Linked DNA regions of Homo sapiens: regions 1, 2, 3 and 4 are each linked to region 5. Evidence: promoter capture Hi-C in 16 types of primary human blood cells and fetal thymus (Javierre and others, 2016). All regions are on one chromosome and are shown on one strand. Each heading gives the region's core, a stretch centred on a gene start or on the middle of the fragment in contact. The rest is flanking DNA. Distances are from core to core; before and after follow the strand shown.

Region 1 (2,700 bases), core at 70-2,569, 240 kb before region 5:
TGAAGGTGGGGCCTCACGTGGGACCCACTCCCTTCCCCCCAGGAACCTGTCTGCCTCCTGCTGCCATTCATGGCACCCAGGCTGTACGTGCCAAGGGGCACCTGCAGGCCAGTGCCAAACTGCCCTTATCACCCCCTCAGCTTCCCTCCTGTGCTCTTTGGCACCCAAGGTCCAGAGGCGGGCTGAAGTGGCAGGGGGCTGGTGTGTCAACACTTCCCTGAGCATGTACACACCTGGCTGGGCTGTGACAGAGCTCAGGCTTGACCATGACTTTGCTCTTAGATCGGAGTGGGTACCGACAGCAGGGAGAAGCCAGGCGGCAGGAGCAGGCACTTCCAAGCCTGTGAGGGCAGGGGGAGAGGACCATCCTGGGTCTCCAAGAGTGCAGGGATGCCTGGGTTCACAGCCACAGTTTGGGTGTCTGCAGCTGCATCCAGGGGGTGGGGGTCCTGCTCTGTGGAGTGGGAGGTCATGCTCTGCAGTCACGACTTGGGTGGCTGCAGCCACGCCTAGGAGGACAGGGCTCCTCCCTGCTCCCAGCACCCCCAAGAGCACAGGGAGGCCTGGGTCTGCAGCCATGACTTGGGCAGCTTAACCTGTGCCCCAGGGGGTGGGGCTTCTTCTTGCTCTGTGCTTTGGGAGGCCCAGTTTGCAGCCATAACTTGGGCAGACTTGTGTCTGCACCTGGGGAGCTCCCACCCTAACAAATCAGAAGGGGCAGGGCTCCCACTTGTCTGAGGCTCCCACCAGCTGCATGGAGTATACAGCTCTGGCTGTACCTCCCTGCTGCAGCCTGTGTGATGGCAGCGGCCACTCTAGATGGCCCACCACTGCCATCAATCACCACTCTGTAGAGGTACATCTAACTGCCGTTAGGATAGGGACAGTGACCATTCTTAACTGCTTCATGCTGACAGGGGGCATTGTTTTTGGGAAAATGGCAGTCAGGTTTTCTCTCAGGGGCCTATATAAGGGTCTCCAGTAAAAGGGAGCCATTGTCCGAGGCTCCATTTGCATGACCATTGGAGTTTGACGGCCCATCCTTTTTGTTTCTTCTGAGCTGCAGTCAGAGATCACTGGTTGGTTCACCCTCACAACTGTCAAAAGCTACAAATATCTCAAAAGGAAAGCTTCCTTGATTCTGAAAAACAAAACGAAGGATCATCAATGGTTCAAGCAAAATGTCAAAAAAGATTACTTCAGTCTTCTGTTAGTTCCGTTCACTCAAAGAAACTCCTGTTCACAATCTCCAAAATTATCAGAAACCTTGGGACAAAAAGGTGCCTCAAGAGGGTGTATGGGCCCATTAAATTAGTCCCAGGCAGCCCTCACCAAATTGCAGCTAGCAACTGGCTGGGGCTGCTCCTCTGTTGCCTCCCTATCATAAGCAGGTGAAGCTGTGGGACCAGTTCCTCCTCAAACAAGGGAGAGAATGGGAGTCCCAGGAATTGGGGACCTGGCCTAATAAGGTGCCTCCTGAAAGGAAAAAAAGCTAACCTGTTGCAAGAAAAAGCTTCCTGTATTCACAGGACTATGACAGTGGCAGAAGGAGACCTGAGATGCCCCTCACGGTTGTGCCAAAGGAGGAGGAGGGCCTAGATTGAAGAGGAGAACTGAAAGACCTGCTCCAGAGTCCAGAAGGAGGTCAACCCTCCTTCCCTTGATGCCCAGAATCACCTGGGGCTCCTGGGTGGCAATGGTAGTCTGAACAACCGGAGCTGGGGAGAGGAGCCCCAGAGCCTGTCAGTCCCGCTGCACTATAAGGGAGGCCGGCCCTGGACCGGGTGACCCGTGTCTCCAGGGATAGTCCGCCCTCTAATTGTCCTCATCACAAACTGGACAGGGTCGAGGTGGCCTCCCCACACTGTCCAGACAGTCCCTCCTAAAATGACCTGGCCTGCCACATTTGCAGTAGTCAACAGGTGCATATCAGGGACTCTGGGGTCCATGAGCCCACAGAGCAGCTATTAGAGCCTCTGCCTTTTTCCTGTATCTCCCCTCTTTTCTGGACTTCCTCCCAGTTCCCACTGCAAAAGACCAACGTGGCTCCTACCAGGAAGCCCTCCAAAGTACCATCTGGTCCCACAGCCCGTTTCTGCTGCCCCCTCCTGACATCAGGGGCCACCTGTGTGATAAAGTCAGTGCCTAGGACCAGCTATTCTGCTACTGAATCAGGAGATAGAGAGGTGTGTTTTACCAAGGCCCCTCCCTCTTAGCCTTTCCAGGAAGCCAGTGGGATTCTCATCAAATCCCTATTCTACCATGAATAGGTTGGTGTAATTCAGGGCCTTAGTCCTTGTCCTTCATAAGCCCTCCGGTATACACACCTGAAAGTGTTTCCTCTTCTATTCTCCTATTTCATCATTGGGGTCCAATTTTCAACCTCCAATGGTACTGCTATTTTTCCAATCAGATAAGTCTCATACCCTTTCCTGGTCCTATATAAGATATAAAGCTCATTGGCCAGGCACAGTGACTCACGCCTGTAATCCCAGCACTTTGGGAAGCTGAGGCAGGTGGATCATGAGGTCAGGAGATCGAGACCATCCTGGCTAACATGGTGAAACCCTGTCTCTACTAAAAATACAAAAAATTAGCCGGGCATGGTGGTGGGCACCTGTAGTCCCAGATACTCAGGAGGCTGAGGCAGGAGAATGGTGTGAACCTGGGAGGTGGAGCTTGCAGTGAGCTGAGATTGCA
Region 2 (2,700 bases), core at 31-2,530, 210 kb before region 5:
AACCTCATGTCTAAAAAAATTATATCATAAAAATGAATATCCCACCCTTGCCTGAGTCACTTTGACACAGAAGCAGCCTCATTATATAACCCAGGTGCAGAACTTTAGATAGGGGTTGCTGGAAACATTTCACATCTAAACTGTGCTTTCTAATGAAACAAGACCTTGGGACCATTTTGTAATCCAGACCTGGAGTTGATCTCTTTTCACAGAGCCCTGCTTTGCTTGGAGTCTATCAAGAAATTGCTTCATCTCCATATCCTATAATAATTCTCTTTTCCTTTGATCAGACAACCCATGAGTCCCCTGGTATGCAGTCTTCCTCATGGCAATAGGACAAAAGACCTGACTTTGTTGGACCTTAAGTTTATTCCTGGTGCCTCAGGCTGATTAGGAGACCTTTTGGCTTCAGCCTCTCCCTGTGGGGTTTTCTGTCCCTCACCCCTCAGAGGACTTGTGTAGGATGCCAGCTGGCCCTGAGGCCTGTGCCACATTGATGCAAGGATGAGAGTCAAGATCTGCCATGATAAGTCAAGGGAATGTGTAAAATGGCATGTTGGAACTCAGCTGCAGCTGGTCCTGCTGTCCTGCTCGGTGTACCCCCCAGCCACCAGAGGGCCCCAAATGGCCTGCTTTGGAGTTTCTCCAGCAATCATTGAAATTTGGCTCTTGTCTTACAGTCTTTGGTTAGGCTCACAAAGTTTCTGCCAATTCCCTGGGCTGCTTCAAAAACTCTAGCTTACAACTGATGGTAGGAAAACAACACCTAGAAAAACACAGACCATGCCTTAGTGATCAGAATATAGATGTGATTTGATTGCCTCATACTAAGACTCAGCTAGGGGTACTTTTTGAATAATAAAACTTATTAAGAATCCCCCTCGATTAATCAGGTCTTTCTCATCTTATGATTAAGTAAGCTTGGAAAACACTGATTTACACAAGTGATCCACCCTCAGTAAGGCAAAATAAAATGTAGACAGTGTAATTACCTCCTGCTTTAAAGGATGCAGCTAAGAATCCTTTTGTGAAGTAAGTTTCTCCAAATAAGAGTGAAAAAGAATAAGCACCTCTTATTTACTAAGTTAGCATTTTCATGCCCTGGATTTTTGAGGGCCACTGTTCTTGCAGTTTGCTTTCTATACCAGTTTCTATACCTTTATTATCTATACCTCCCTATCTTTCATTCATTCCCTCCTTCTACCCAGATATATACACGTACCACACAACCTGAATATTTCAGAGCAATCTTGATTCCAAGCATTCATTCACTGTTCTCATAAAAATGCTTGTATTTGTCAGTCCTAAGAACAGTCATCATTCATAATGTATCTGTCAGCAATGAAAACACATCCCCAGTATATGCCTAAGCTAACCCCTAATATTTTGTACCTGGAACATTATCTGGCTAACCAGAGACATTGAGGACAAAGCAATTTGTCTGAAGGACAGACTCCCCCACTGCCCCCGCCATCCATCCCCTGCACTGTACTCTGTCCCCCATGCATCCTTCACTCCCTGGGTGGCTGCAGCGATATTCTCTGTCTTGGTGATGTCCAGGGTCACCGTCTCCAGCCTGTCTGAAGTCTGGCCCCTCAGCTGCTCTGCCTCCTTCTCCATCAGACACATAGCCAGCACCCTCAAGCTTTGCGTATCCAGCTGTCTTGCCAGCAGATTCCCGAAGCCCGAGTCACAGCCCATGATGAAGCAGTTATCTCAAGGGAGGCTCACCACCTGTCTCTCCCACTACCAGCGCAGAAGGTAGTACAGGCCCACGAGGGCTATCAGGGAGAGTCCCATGGCAGGGGTCTCTCCTTCACCTTGGGAAAGAAAGAAAATCTTCTAAACCTTAAAAAGTATGTTCTCTGACCACAATGGAATTAAATTAGGAATAAATAACAGAAAAGTATCCAAAAAATCTCCCAGTAGTTGGAAAATTACAAAATATTTGGCTAAATGATACATGCATGGATTAAAAAAGAAATACAAAGAAAAATTAGAATATATTTCAACTGAGTGAAAATGAAAATGTGGTACATTAAAGTTTGTGGAGTGGGGCTAAGCTGTGCTTAGAGAGAAATTTATAACACTAAATGCCTATATTAGAAAAGAAGAAAGGTTTCTTTTTTTAACATTTATTTTAAGATCGGGGTACACGTGAAGGATTGTTACATAGGTAAACGTGTATCATGGGGTTTGTTGTGTAGATTATTTCATCACCCAGGTATTAAGGCTAGTACCCATTAGTTATTTTTCTTGATCCTCTCCCTATCCCCACCCTCAACCCTCTGATAGACCCCAGTGTTCATTGTTCCCCTCTATATATCCATGTGTTCTCATCATTTAGCTTCCACTTATAAATGAGAACATGTAGTATTTGGTTTTCTGTTCCTGCATTAGTCTGCTAAGGATAATGACCTCCAATTCCATCCATGTCCCTGCAAAGGACGTGATTTCATTCTTTTGAATGGCTACATAGTATTCCATTGTGTTTATGTACCACATTCTTTATCCAGTCTATCATTGATGGGCATTTAGGTTGATTCCATCTCTTTGCTATTGTGAATAGTGCTGGAATGAACATATGCATGTATGTGTCTTTATGATAGAGTAACTTACATTCCTTTGGGTATATACCCAGTAATGGGATTTCTGGGTTGAATGGTAGTTCTGTCTTTAGGTCTTTAAGGAATTGCCACA
Region 3 (2,784 bases), core at 130-2,629, 140 kb after region 5:
ATCTGTGGCCAGAATGGTGAGGGGCAGAGGTAGGAGGAGGCCAGAGGCACTGGGGTGGGGGCGGGGGCAGGTCCTGTTAGGGAACTGGAGAACGGAGCTGGCTTTTGTGTGGCTTGGTGGTCTCAGACTCCACTGTGCCTAAGGATCGCCTAGGAGCAAGAGAATGTGGAGTCCCCTGCCCCGCCCTGGGCCTAGCTGAGTGACAAGCTCTGGGACCGAGGACCCAGGGCTCACCATCCAATGCCGGTGGTCCAAGGACCACTCTGTCACACCCAGGGTAGTGCATGACCAGCCCTGAGGCCTTCCACAGCCCCCCTCCAGCCTCAGCACCACCCCACAAGGAGCACGGCATAATTGGGGGCTGGCTGTTCCCATTGCCTCCTTTACTGAGAGGAAACCAGGGCTCAGAGGGGCGACAGGCTCATTCAAAGTTGGAGCCGTTACGAGGCAGAACGGTGGCTCCAACCCCAAACATGCAAAGGCCTCAAAGTACGGAGAAGGGGACTCTTGAGAGCTGCTTGAGGATAGGACCCACATACCCCAGGACCTGGGACACATGCCACACTCAGCTCCACAAGGGCTTCCTGAATGATCTGGAAGACAGCCAGCCTCCCTGCACAGAAGAGAGCAGTTAAGAATAAACTCCTGGGAAATACTCACATAGTGTGTGCCATCTGTCCTTAAGATGGAGATTAACTTCTTCCACTCTCACATCCTGCGAGGCAGGTGGTGCTACCATCCCCACCTCATAGAGGAGGAAACTGAGGCACAGGGCAGTTGAGTAAGTTGCCTAAGGGCACCTAGCTGGTGGGTGGTGGAGCCAGGGCTGGAACCCCAGGGCCTGTCTCACTTGGCTGCACCGGCTCTCTTCTCAGCAAGTAGACGGTCACTGCCCAGATACTGCAATGTGAATATCTCACACTTGGCCCTCATCCCCTCACACTCAGCCACCTCGTGTGTGAACTGTCTGTGCAATAGTGGGGCCCTTCCTGGGCATTGGGGCACTGCTGGCCTCTATGGCTCTGGGGTGGCTTTGCCCTGGCAGGCTTCCAGGTTCCAGGTGCCTACGCGTCCTGGCCTGTGCCCTCTGTTGTGGATTCTCAGGCTTTGCCTCCTGATCTCTGGACCCTCTTCCCCCAGCCTCATGTTCTGGACCAACTGGAATGAGCAGCATCCCAGCATCATGCGGGCGGCGCTCTCGGGAGCCAATGTCCTGACCCTTATCGAGAAGGACATCCGTACCCCCAATGGCCTGGCCATCGACCACCGTGCCGAGAAGCTCTACTTCTCTGACGCCACCCTGGACAAGATCGAGCGGTGCGAGTATGACGGCTCCCACCGCTATGTGAGTCTGCGGGGTGGGTGAGCTGGCGGGCGGCTGAGGGGAGGCCAGGGCCAGGGTCAGCCGTCAACCAAGACCGTCCAGGCACAGACATGGTGGGAACAGCTGGGAGGAGGTGAGTGCCTCCAGGCCCCAGCCTCGGTCAACCCCACCCTGTCCAGCTTGCTCCTCATCAGCTAGACGAGGGAGATAGCAGGATGCCTCTGCGGGCCCTCATTCTGTAGCTGTCAGAGGCCAGGCCAGGCTGTGGTCCGGTGGAGACTGGGCAAGAGGCCTGAGCGATGCTGTGACGGTGATGGTGCTGTCTCCACAGGTGATCCTAAAGTCAGAGCCTGTCCACCCCTTCGGGCTGGCCGTGTATGGGGAGCACATTTTCTGGACTGACTGGGTGCGGCGGGCAGTGCAGCGGGCCAACAAGCACGTGGGCAGCAACATGAAGCTGCTGCGCGTGGACATCCCCCAGCAGCCCATGGGCATCATCGCCGTGGCCAACGACACCAACAGCTGTGAGTGGGGCTGCCGCCAGCTGCCTCACCCTCCTGCCTGTCGTGCATGGACATACAAACACACACCCCACACACACATCGCACATACCACACGCACCCTACACATACCACACACACACATCCCACACATACTACACTACACACACCACACCACATACACACACCACACCCCTCCCACACACTCAACACATACACACCACACCATACACACCCCCCACACACCACATACACATACACCCCCAACACATACACACACATACACACCCCACATACACACACCACACATATCACATGCACACCCCACATATACCACACCACACACATACCACACACACACCACACACCACATACACACCACACATACCACACACACCCCACACATACCACATACACACACCACCACACACACTACACATACCACACACACACCACATACACACACCACATACACACACCACACATGACACATACACACCACACATAGGACACACATACACATGCCACACACCTACCACCCACAACACACATCACACACACACCACACAGCACACACACACACCACACACCACACGTACCACAAACATGCCACACACACACACACACATCTCACAGACATACTATAAACACCCCACACCCCACACACCACACCCCACACACACTTGCCTGGTCCTGCTCTCCCTGGGCCTCCATTACACAGACACACACAGCTGTACACACCTTTGGAACCGCAAAACCCCCAGTGCTCCTGTACCCCTTCCCACCAAGGCATCTACGCACACAGATGGACTCTGCACACGCCTGGCATCTCCTCCACGTTGCACACACACATTCATGTCACACCCGCCCCTCAGGGCTCATCCATGCCCTCGGTGCCCCTACCCTCACCCTGGTCACTCTCCTCACTTGGAGCCACACAGACAGCCGAGAGCCTGGGTG
Region 4 (2,700 bases), core at 2-2,501, 230 kb before region 5:
TGTGCCACCACGCCCAGCTAGTTTTTGTATTATTAGTAGAGATGGGGTTTCACCATGTTGGCCAGGCTGGTCTCGAACTCCTGATCTCAGGTGATCCACCTGCCTCAGCCTCCCAAAGTGCTGGGATTACAGGCCTGAGCCACCGTGCCCGGCCCAGAACAATTTTCATATAATCTATTGACTTGCCTGCCCTAAGACAAAGGCCGTTGTTTTGAGGTAGCCTTAGTTTACTTTCCAAGTTCCATCTGCTTTTCCACTGGAGTTCAGAGGTCTTTCATGGCCAGCCCATTCTGCCATCCATGACCTTTGATGGAGCCTGTTCTCAGCTCAAGGCAATCTCCAGAAACTGAAGAACATGACCTTTCTAAATGCAAGTAAGAATTCGTCAAAGAAACTTGTGCTGGTTAAAGCTTAAGATAACCGGATAGCCAATAAATTCAGAGATAGAGGCATGACTACTTGGGACAGGCTTTTAAGAAAACTGTGATTATATTTCTTTGGCAAAATTAAAACTTGATGGAAACTCAGGGAACATTTTGTCTAACCTAGATAATAAAAGCAAAGTCATATCTTTTCCTTGTTTAAATGACATGGGGGGGGGCTGGGTTGGATGAGAGTGAACTGGGAGGACACAGAGATCTGTATTTGGAACATGAGAAAATGTGCTAGGCAATCTGAAACAATATTGATCATTACTCTTTTAGCTACATCTTATAAGTTGATTACTTTTTACAGAAATAGAATTTTGTCTAGACTATTGGATAAGCTCTAGGAAAAAAAGTTGATTTCCCACATGAATGCTTGGGATCATCAATTTTCATTTATGCTTTTGATCAAATACTATTTGGCTAATACATTCATAGGGTCCTCTAGTTTTCCCAACCTTTTTATCTATCCCGACTAAGAAATACAGAGTGCCTTGACCACTCTGTGACCTGGCCAGTTGCATGTTTTTTTGCAGGGTTAAGTCAGGTCCTTGAACATTCCCAGGCTCTGGTAAACATGTTTAGGTTGTTGTCCAGAACACTGAAAGAAACTAGCCCCAGCCCTTAACCAAACTCCTCAAACCCTCATATAAACTCCATAACACAACCCCCTTATTGCAGACATAGCTAGGTGGAACATCTCTTTCGCTTGCTGTTGAGAGGATTCCTGCAGCCCCTTTTGTAAGTAAGTTCCCCTGATAAATACTTTAGACTAATTACCCTGGTGTTTAGTGCTTCTCTCTTTGGAATCTCAACCAGCCCCATCTCCAAATGGTTTACAGATAATCCTTCTTGGGAATTTCCCTGCTACAGACTTTGGGGCTCCAGTTTTGGTTTCGGCCTGGACAAAACAACACTGCAGGAATAGTTTAAGGTATTTGCCTTTTGTGATAGTGTCCATTATAATATTATTTTCTTATTACTATTAATTTTTTTTTTTTTAGAGGCAGAGTCATCCAGGCTTCAGTGCAGCAGTGGCGATCACAGCTCACTGCAGCCTCAAACTCCTGGGCTTAAGTGATCTGCTCACCTCAGCCTCCTGAGCAGATGGGACTACAGGTGTACTACCACATCTGACTAATTTAAAATTTTTTTTATAGAGATGGTGTCTCCCTCTGTTGCCCAGGCTGGTCTCAAACTTCAGGGCTCTAGGGATCCTCCTGCCTTGGCCTCTCAAAGTGTTGGGAGTACAGGTGTGAGCCACTGCACTTGGCCTATTATTACTATTATAATTATTTTTCAACCACCTGGTAAATTTGCGAGGGTTGTTTTGTTAAGTAAATAAATCAAAATCTTCCCTGGAAATTTAAGGGAGAAATGTCGAGGAAGAAGTTCATGTCATTTGAGGATAATTGGCTGCACAGTTACTCTTTTGCAGAGGAAGGCATGTGTTTGTGATGGACATAGCAGCTGTCAATATGCCCCCACTATCAGAGGGTATACCAAACCTGCAAACTCTTTGTTTCGGCAGCAAAATATATTAACAAAAATTCAGGAGTGGACAGAAGTTTCTAATTTTGATGTAGTCCAATGTGTCCATTTTTTTTCCTCTTGTTGCCTGTGCTTTCAGTGTCATATCCAAGAAATCACTGCCAAATCCAACGTCATGAAGCTTTCTCCCTGTTTTTTTGTTTTTTGAGACAGGGTCTTGCTCTGTTGCCCAGGTTGGAGTGCAGTGGCATGATCAGAGCTCACTGCAACCTCTGCCTCCTGGGCTCAAACAATCCTCCCTCCTCAGCCTCCCTAGTAGCTGGAACTACAGGTGCATGCCACCATGCCTGGCTAATTTTTGTATTTTTTGTAGAGATGGGGTCTTGCCATGTTGCCCAGGCAGGTCTCCAATTCCTGGGCTCAAGTGATCCACCTGCTGTGGCCTCCCAAAGTGTTGGGACTACATGTGTGAGCCACCACACTCGGCCATCTCCCTGTATTTTCTTCTAGGAGTTTTATAGTTTTAGTTCTTAAATTTAGGTCTTTGATCTATTTTGAGTTAATTTTTGCATATAGTGTAAGGTACAGGTCTAACTTCATTCTTTTGCAGGTGAATATTCAGTTTTCCCGTTACCATTTGTTGAAAAGATTGTCCTTTCCCCATTGAATGGTCTTGGCACCCTCGTTAAAAATCATTTGACCATATATGCAAGGGTTTATTTCTGTGTTATCTATTCTATTCCGTTGGTCTAGGTATCTGTCTTTATGTCAGTAACACACTGGT
Region 5 (2,700 bases), core at 64-2,563:
ACAGCCCCTATTAAAGACACCCAACCTACCCATAACCATTTCAGAAGTTCTTCCAAAGGTCTCTCCTTCCCTGTCATTGCTACAGTGAGCTTCATTTTTAAAATGGGAACTTGACAAGGCAGAATTATAGAGGATAGAGGCAGGATTCCTCCATAAGAGATTGGAATTTCCCAAAGAAAATGAAAGTGGGGTTTGCTTCCCCAACAAACAGGCAGTTGTCAGGACCTCTGGATGTGCTACATGTCTGTCTCTATTTTTCCATCTCTAGCTTTTACACCCACTCCTGTAAACTTCTGGCATGGACTTTGCCCCAGAGGGACACACCTAGCTTCTTGCGGGAGTGGGCAAGGAGGAGCACAGTTGGAACTACAGGGAGGGTGGTGGGGCTTGGCCCCCATGCAGTAGGCACATGGCAGGTGTTCCCTAAGGAGGAAACCTGGCCCTCCTCAGTCTTTCCTGTGAGACTGAGTAGGCAGAGTGGCCAGGCACAGGACAGGATTATTAGTACAATGGTCAAGGCCACTCCTGAACAGGAATGAAAGAGACACATCCTCCTATGCTATTGCATCTCTGAACCCGGGTGGAGGAGCGGAGGAAGGAGGAACGGAAGTGGGGCAAGAAGGGGCACAGGCTTCCTTCTCCCTTCACTTGGCTTTCCCCAAGCTCTAGGAAAAGAGAGCACTTGTCACTTACCAGAAGGACACAACTGAGGAAGCAATAAGAATATCAATAATAGCAGTCTCTAGGAATCATGCAGCGTTTACCACGAACTGGGCAGGGCTCTAAGCACTGTACATACACTAATTCATTTAGTGCTTACAATATCCCCATGAAGTAGATACTATTTTTGTATTTTCTAGATTTTACAAAAAGCTAAGTCTTTTAACTAACTTGGCAGGGAAGGGTGAGAAGCAGAAGGTGGGTTGGGAGCAGTCATCTTCTTTGGATTTGGATTTGAAGGGAGTGGGAATGTGACTGGTTGAGGGTGGGGAAGGGAAAAAGGCAAGAGGCCCCAGATGGGGCGCCCCAAGGTGTTAAAGAGAAGCAGTGACAGGTCAAGGCAGGACTCACCCAACACTGGAACTAGGGTATAACTTCACTGTCCTTGGAGAATGGTGGATGAAATCTCAATTTGACAGGAATGGGGCATAAGAGTCCTGGCCCCAGGATGGAGAGGTGGCTTAATGGGAGCTGTCCATGGTGCAAGGAAGCTGGGAAAAAGGCTGCCCTCCTCTTGCCAGTGTCCACTCTTCTGATTTTCCCTTTTGCTGCCTCTTCCAGCCCAGGCTCCCTGTGCCAGTCAAACCAGGAGAGGCCGGAGATGGCTGATCAGCACAAAGTCCAGACTGTTCCTGCTGAGGGTGTGGCTCACTTAACCCTTCACAGGCCTGAAGCCCCAGAGGGAGACACTCAAGCTCCCTCTAGGTAGGAAAGGGTATCTGGCTGGCGTTAGCTGAGAGGCTTAACTAAAGGAGGGTTCTTGCTCCATTGTCTCCCAAATTTGGAAATGAAAGCTGGAAGAATGGAATTTATAGCCAAGGAAAATATTTCCCAAAGAGAAGTCAGGAATTTTGTCAAGGACAGGTAGGGCCAAGTGCGGTTGCTCATGCCTATACTCCCAGCACTTTGGGAGGCCAAGGCGGGAGGATCACTTGAGCCCAGGAGTTCGAGACCAGCCTAGGCAACATGGCGAGACACGTCTTTACAAAGAGTGTCTTCCTAGCAAAAAAACAGTACCTCCCTCATACCTACTCTTCCTATCTTATCGGGAGTCAGGGGATGTTAATGAGATTACTTGGAGAGCTAAGCAGACAAAATCCCCAAATTCTTCTCCACTTCCCTTCCCCCATGAATCAGACCCTATCATAGAGACCCAAAGATTAAAGTGATTAGTAATAATACCTCACATGTGTATAGATGTCCCAGTTTCATTGAACTCCCCCTTGCATTGCCTCACTGAATAGCACCACCCCGAGGAAGGCAATACAGATACTCCATTAAAATGGAAAACTAGGAACAAACACCAGACTCAGAGAGGTTACACAATGTGCCCACAGTTCCATGCTAGTGCATGGCAGAACCAGGAACAGAATGCAGCTCCCTAAGTTTGCCAAAAGTTGCAGCCCAAGTTCTGAAGTTTCTAATTTTAATTCGTCAGCACTAGGATACTGAGTAAGACCCTGAGCTAATGTAATAGCTCCCTCTGATAGATAAGAAGTACCCCTTCATCCAGCCAGGAAAATTCCTAAAAACAGCAAGCCCCCTCTGCCTACCATCCTCTCTCCCAGGCATGCAGAAAGAACAAATTAGGTAATTATAGACACTTAACTGAAGAGAGACTTGATTCTCCAACTCTCAGCTATGGCTGCTTGGTGCAAGGTCCAAACTCTATGGCTCTCACAGAAGCACTCTGCGTAAGCCTGGCACATCAGCAGTTCTATTATCAACCTGCCTTTACATAATTTATTGATCTACTACATATATTTGAAGGTGGAGGGGGGCAAGGAAAAGAGAGAAAGCTGAGTGGAAGTGACATCAAAACATAATGCTATGTGTAGGTGGAGCAGTATCCATGTCCTAGAGGCAGAAGTGACAAATATCACCTATTTACCAGTGGAGGAAACAGATCTAGAGTGAGAAAACCACTTTTCCAGGGTCACACCACTGCAAACCTGGCAGAGCTGGCACCAAAACCCAAGT

What was found. The method cuts DNA at HindIII sites, captures the fragments that hold promoters and counts their contacts. A CHiCAGO score of 5 or more calls a contact.
Region 1: a fragment that was not itself captured here is called in contact with the fragment with the promoter of MYO1A in region 5 in 3 of 17 cell types (erythroblasts, M2 macrophages and M0 macrophages); the score reaches 7.7 in erythroblasts.
Region 2: a fragment that was not itself captured here is called in contact with the fragment with the promoter of MYO1A in region 5 in 1 of 17 cell types (M0 macrophages); the score reaches 5.1 in M0 macrophages.
Region 3: a fragment that was not itself captured here is called in contact with the fragment with the promoter of MYO1A in region 5 in 2 of 17 cell types (erythroblasts and naive CD8 T cells); the score reaches 6.3 in erythroblasts.
Region 4: a contact is called between a fragment that was not itself captured here and the fragment with the promoter of MYO1A in region 5, in 4 of 17 cell types (M2 macrophages, erythroblasts, M0 macrophages and 1 more). The highest score is 6.6, in M2 macrophages.

Annotation. Positions count from the first base shown.
Region 1 is chr12:56,804,700-56,807,399 of GRCh38, forward strand. No RefSeq gene overlaps it. Among named protein-coding and RNA genes, the nearest start is that of HSD17B6, 43 kb to the left of the region's middle. RefSeq lists an enhancer at 1-620. The HindIII fragment of the contact is 383 bases long and covers 1,129-1,511 here.
Region 2 is chr12:56,839,476-56,842,175 of GRCh38, forward strand. No RefSeq gene overlaps it. Among named protein-coding and RNA genes, the nearest start is that of HSD17B6, 78 kb to the left of the region's middle. The HindIII fragment of the contact is 725 bases long and covers 919-1,643 here.
Region 3 is chr12:57,189,665-57,192,448 of GRCh38, forward strand. It overlaps LRP1 (LDL receptor related protein 1), which reads left to right. Exons shown (of 89, transcript NM_002332.3): 43 at 1,141-1,345; 44 at 1,656-1,848. Among named protein-coding and RNA genes, the nearest start is that of MIR1228, 3.4 kb to the right of the region's middle. The HindIII fragment of the contact is 5,411 bases long and covers 1-2,784 here.
Region 4 is chr12:56,823,331-56,826,030 of GRCh38, forward strand. No RefSeq gene overlaps it. Among named protein-coding and RNA genes, the nearest start is that of HSD17B6, 61 kb to the left of the region's middle. The HindIII fragment of the contact is 1,687 bases long and covers 409-2,095 here.
Region 5 is chr12:57,048,816-57,051,515 of GRCh38, forward strand. It overlaps MYO1A (myosin IA), which reads right to left and starts at 1,314. Exons shown (of 28, transcript NM_005379.4): 1 at 1,072-1,314. The HindIII fragment of the contact is 12,080 bases long and covers 1-2,700 here.